Linked DNA regions of Homo sapiens: region 2 is linked to region 1. Evidence: promoter capture Hi-C in 16 types of primary human blood cells and fetal thymus (Javierre and others, 2016). All regions are on one chromosome and are shown on one strand. The core of a region is centred on a gene start or on the middle of the fragment in contact, and the rest is flanking DNA. Distances in the headings are between cores, read along the strand shown. Region 1 holds the start of CENPU (centromere protein U). Region 2 overlaps CASP3 (caspase 3).

What was found. The method cuts DNA at HindIII sites, captures the fragments that hold promoters and counts their contacts. A CHiCAGO score of 5 or more calls a contact.
Region 2: a fragment that was not itself captured here is called in contact with the fragment with the promoter of CENPU in region 1 in 1 of 17 cell types (erythroblasts); the score reaches 5.7 in erythroblasts.

What each region holds. Positions count from the first base shown.
Region 1 is chr4:184,732,560-184,735,345 of GRCh38, reverse strand. It overlaps CENPU (centromere protein U), which reads left to right and starts at 1,250. Exons shown (of 13, transcript NM_024629.4): 1 at 1,250-1,330. The coding sequence starts at 1,284. RefSeq lists a silencer at 1,244-1,303 and enhancers at 1,674-1,793, 944-1,810. The HindIII fragment of the contact is 4,927 bases long and covers 1-2,786 here.
Region 2 is chr4:184,627,170-184,629,955 of GRCh38, reverse strand. It overlaps CASP3 (caspase 3), which reads left to right. Exons shown (of 8, transcript NM_004346.4): 8 at 455-2,260. The coding sequence ends at 684. Among named protein-coding and RNA genes, the nearest start is that of LINC02365, 3.7 kb to the right of the region's middle. The HindIII fragment of the contact is 1,803 bases long and covers 540-2,342 here.

The DNA.
Region 1 (2,786 bases), core at 1-2,500:
AGCAAAACTCCAACTCAAAAAAAAAAAAAAAAAAAAAAAAAGAACTTACTCATGTAACCAAATAGCACCTGCACCCCAATAATTTATGGAAAAATAAAATAAATAAAAAATAAAAGCAATAGCTTTAGTAAGAAAGGGCACTTGCAGCATACCTACCAAATATCATATAAAGTTTAGAAACATACAATAATCAATACATTATTTGGGGCTATATCAAGGTAGAAAACCACAGGAATGATACACATAAAATCAGAAGAGTGGTTATTCTTTGGAGGAGGAGGATACCATTCAGAGGGGTACCCAAGAGTTATATATAAAAATGATCCATATCCCCATGTAGTGCTGGTTACACGGATGTTTGTTTTTATCTTTACATTACACGTTATATTCTTTCATATGCATGAAACGTAATATTTTTGTCGTAGTAAAATATACATAACAAAATTTAGCATTTTAACCGTTTTTAACTTTACAGTATTGTGGCATTAAGTACCTTCACCTTGTGCATCCATCCACCACTATTTCCAGAACGTTTTCATCATCCCAAACTGCTTTTGGTATCATATCCAAGAAATCATACCAAGTCCAATGTTATGAAGTTTTTGCTCTGTTTTCTTCTAAGAGTTTTAATTTTAGCCTTTATAGTTAGGTCTTTGATTCATTTTGCGTTAATTTTTATACGCGGTGTAAGGTAAGGGTTCAATTACATTCTTCTGCATTACACATTTTTAAACACAAACAAAATAAAAGAACAAAAGGAACCCTGTCCATTTACAAATGAAGGTATTGGGATAGCGGTAAAGTAACATGCTAAGCTCAGACAGCTGATAAAGGCAGCAGGGGCTGGAAGCCAAATCCTGTAGGCCTGGAAAGACGACTGCGGCCTCAGCGACAACAGCTGCGAACACGGGTCTCCACCCACCCTCTTACCTGCCCACGACTCAGGGACACTAGCTCCTCCCCTTTCCCCACCCCACAAGGGGCCGTCCCACGTGGCTCCCGGGCTTTCTGGCGCCGGAAAACTGGCGATGCGGGTGGGCGCGAAAGCCCGGAAAACTTTGGCATGTTTTGGACCGTAGGTAACTGGTTGTGCGGCATGGACTCCAGCTCCGTTGCGCTGTAATAACCAGACCCAGTTTTCCCTCACGCTCCAGGCCAGGGAGGAGCCCGGGGGCCGCTCAGGAAGTCCTGCGCACGCGCGCGTGCTCGGCCCGGATTGGCTGTTCGGAGCGGCGAGGGGCTTGGCGGGAGCTTCCAGTCGCTCGAGAGCGGAGAGCGGCACCATGGCCCCGCGGGGGCGGCGGCGGCCGCGGCCTCACAGGTCTGAGGGGTAAGTACTGCCGACCCTCGGGAGCGCGGGGCCGGAGACCAGCTTGAACTGCTTCCTCGCCTGCCGTGGTTTGCGCCTCCCGGCGCTGTTGGTGCTCCACTGTGGAGGTCGCCCGAGTGGCCAATCGCCCGGGTCCCCGGCTTCCTCCTCAGTCTAGTGGGGATAACAGTGATCCCACCTGCACGGGCCTGTCGGGGCCTAACACTGCCTGGCGGGTGGGAGAGACGTCAGCCAGTGTCGTGTCGTTTTGTGGGGAGGGGGAGTGCCGTCCAAAGTAGTGAGTCTCAAAGTGCTAGCTTGAAAGCAAAATATTCAGCAAATACGTATTGCCTGCGGTTTGCCAGACTTTGTTAGTGGAGTTTTATTCTCTGACTGGGAATCAGTTTTCTTATTTTGAAGACCCTGGTGTTTTCTTACTGCAAACCACAGACCGTAAACTGGAGCATAAATCCGGCTGGGGGACCGAGCTGCCGCTTGCGGTTCTCCAGGATGGCTCGAGCGGTTTTTGTTTACCAAAGAAAGCGAGCGTTTGGTCGGTTGCAAAACGCGCTCTAGAATGCTGGTCGCTGATTCGTTGGCGAATGGCCATCCAAGGCCCGGCCTGGATCTGGCGGGAAGGGTCTCGGCTTGCTGCAGACGGTGCACAAAGCCATACGCCAAGACGATCTGAAGAGAACAGGAGTTCCCCCGGGCCTGGGAAGGCTGCCTGGAGGAGGAGGTGCTGGTAGATGCGGGGTTAGGGTGGAAAAGCTGGAGCAGGACACCGCAGGTGGGTGGGGAAACCGAGACCAGACTTCTGTGGCCAGTGGAGGAGAATGAAGACTCCCCCAGTGCAAAAAAGGATTAGAAGAGAATGTCAGCCTTCAATGTCAGCTGAAAAGAGTTTATCTGAAAGGCTAGTGGTTTTTGTTGTCTTTTTTTATTTTTATCTTTTAACATTTTTGGGTTTGAGACTCATGAAATCTGTTCATGCCTCCTCCCAAAACACACTTACGCACATACAACAGAATTTTTTTTTTTTTTTTTTTTTGAGACGGAGTCTCACTCTGTGGCCCAGGCTGGAGTGCAGTGGCGCAATCTCCGCCTCCCAGGTTCAAGCGATTTTCCTGCCTCAGACTCCAGAGGAGCTGGGATTACAGGCGCTCGCCCCCACGTCCAGCTAATTTTTGTATTTTTAGTAAAGACGGGGTTTCACCATGTTGGCCAGGATGGTCTTGATTTCCTCACCTCGTGATCCGCCCTCCTGGGGTTCCCAAAGCGCTGAGATTACAGGCATGAGCCACCGCGCCTGGCCCAGAAATTTTACCTGTGGGTTGTCACAGAGGTTTCTGTCTCTCAGAAGCCCCACCTTGACTCCAGCGTAAGGCAAGGAGGAACCTTGACTTTTTTTCCCCCCCAAGAAAGGACAAGACAGCTCAAAGAGTTTAGGTTAAGAAGTTTATGTGGTCTAGTGTGT
Region 2 (2,786 bases), core at 192-2,691, 110 kb after region 1:
ATACTTTATTCAGATGCTCTGTAGACAAGTAGGACACTCAAAGCAATTTGTTTCTTGGCTAAGTCAGTATTAAAATAAGGTGAAATCTGATTGGAACACTGTGCTACTTACAATGATCCTTTTTATACATCTTTACTTTTGCATCTTACCTTCTGCGTGTTTGCTCTTCTTGCCTATTGAAAGGGGAGTCCAGAAAGTAAAACTTTCAATAATTCAGTGTTCGTGAAGCTGGTCCCCGGCCAGCTTTGCTGAAAGCAGGGGGTGTACGCATAGCACACATTCGTCCTTCAGCATCATTTCTTCTGAAACCAAAGGTGTCTTTTTTTTTTTATTTGTATGACTAATAAGACTTATGTAAGTTTATGCTTATTTTTGCCTTTATGACTACATAATAATTTATAGAATCAACTAAAATCAGCTATCCATGGTATTTTGCTTGTATTTTGCCTTTTAGGTTATTATTCTTGGCGAAATTCAAAGGATGGCTCCTGGTTCATCCAGTCGCTTTGTGCCATGCTGAAACAGTATGCCGACAAGCTTGAATTTATGCACATTCTTACCCGGGTTAACCGAAAGGTGGCAACAGAATTTGAGTCCTTTTCCTTTGACGCTACTTTTCATGCAAAGAAACAGATTCCATGTATTGTTTCCATGCTCACAAAAGAACTCTATTTTTATCACTAAAGAAATGGTTGGTTGGTGGTTTTTTTTAGTTTGTATGCCAAGTGAGAAGATGGTATATTTGGTACTGTATTTCCCTCTCATTTTGACCTACTCTCATGCTGCAGAGGGTACTTTAAGACATACTCCTTCCATCAAATAGAACCACTATGAAGCTACCTCAAACTTCCAGTCAGGTAGTTGCAATTGAATTAAATTAGGAATAAATAAAAATGGATACTGGTGCAGTCATTATGAGAGGCAATGATTGTTAATTTACAGCTTTCATGATTAGCAAGTTACAGTGATGCTGTGCTATGAATTTTCAAGTAATTGTGAAAAAGTTAAACATTGAAGTAATGAATTTTTATGATATTCCCCCCACTTAAGACTGTGTATTCTAGTTTTGTCAAACTGTAGAAATGATGATGTGGAAGAACTTAGGCATCTGTGGGCATGGTCAAAGGCTCAAACCTTTATTTTAGAATTGATATACACGGATGACTTAACTGCATTTTTAGACCATTTATCTGGGATTATGGTTTTGTGATGTTTGTCCTGAACACTTTTGTTGTAAAAAAATAATAATAATGTTTAATATTGAGAAAGAAACTAATATTTTATGTGAGAGAAAGTGTGAGCAAACTAACTTGACTTTTAAGGCTAAAACTTAACATTCATAGAGGGGTGGAGTTTTAACTGTAAGGTGCTACAATGCCCCTGGATCTACCAGCATAAATATCTTCTGATTTGTCCCTATGCATATCAGTTGAGCTTCATATACCAGCAATATATCTGAAGAGCTATTATATAAAAACCCCAAACTGTTGATTATTAGCCAGGTAATGTGAATAAATTCTATAGGAACATATGAAAATACAACTTAAATAATAAACAGTGGAATATAAGGAAAGCAATAAATGAATGGGCTGAGCTGCCTGTAACTTGAGAGTAGATGGTTTGAGCCTGAGCAGAGACATGACTCAGCCTGTTCCATGAAGGCAGAGCCATGGACCACGCAGGAAGGGCCTACAGCCCATTTCTCCATACGCACTGGTATGTGTGGATGATGCTGCCAGGGCGCCATCGCCAAGTAAGAAAGTGAAGCAAATCAGAAACTTGTGAAGTGGAAATGTTCTAAAGGTGGTGAGGCAATAAAAATCATAGTACTCTTTGTAGCAAAATTCTTAAGTATGTTATTTTCTGTTGAAGTTTACAATCAAAGGAAAATAGTAATGTTTTATACTGTTTACTGAAAGAAAAAGACCTATGAGCACATAGGACTCTAGACGGCATCCAGCCGGAGGCCAGAGCTGAGCCCTCAGCCCGGGAGGCAGGCTCCAGGCCTCAGCAGGTGCGGAGCCGTCACTGCACCAAGTCTCACTGGCTGTCAGTATGACATTTCACGGGAGATTTCTTGTTGCTCAAAAAATGAGCTCGCATTTGTCAATGACAGTTTCTTTTTTCTTACTAGACCTGTAACTTTTGTAAATACACATAGCATGTAATGGTATCTTAAAGTGTGTTTCTATGTGACAATTTTGTACAAATTTGTTATTTTCCATTTTTATTTCAAAATATACATTCAAACTTAAAATTACCAATGTCTTTGAGTTTTTTGTTGCTGTTGTTTTTGATGTTGTGCCACTAATTGGAAGTTAAAATGTTTTTAATCAGAAGCTTGATTTGGAAGAGTCAAAGAGGAAGCACCAGAACCCTAGCCTAGTTTTTTGAGGTGGTGGCAGTTAGATCAGGGCAGACAGATCGCTTATGCTTCCCAAGTCCTCGCAGAAGTTCCTGACCCTGAAATGACCACAATGCCAGGAAGATACTTTGTTTGCATAGATCTCAGGCCTTAAATATGACCATATGTGTGAATTTGAAACTTTTTCCACAAGATAAGTGTCTAATGGGAAGAACAACCTAAGAGGATATACAACAAGCCGTTGATGTTTACTGATGGCCTCCTCTGGGCGCTGGGATTTTGACAGAGGAATTTGCTGTCTTTTTACTTCATATGCTTAGAAAAGGAATATAGGAAAGTGGGGTTGTGGGTGGTTTTAAATTTCTTCCAATATTTCTGTAATGAAAATATATTACTTTTAAATCAGAAACAAAATAAATTG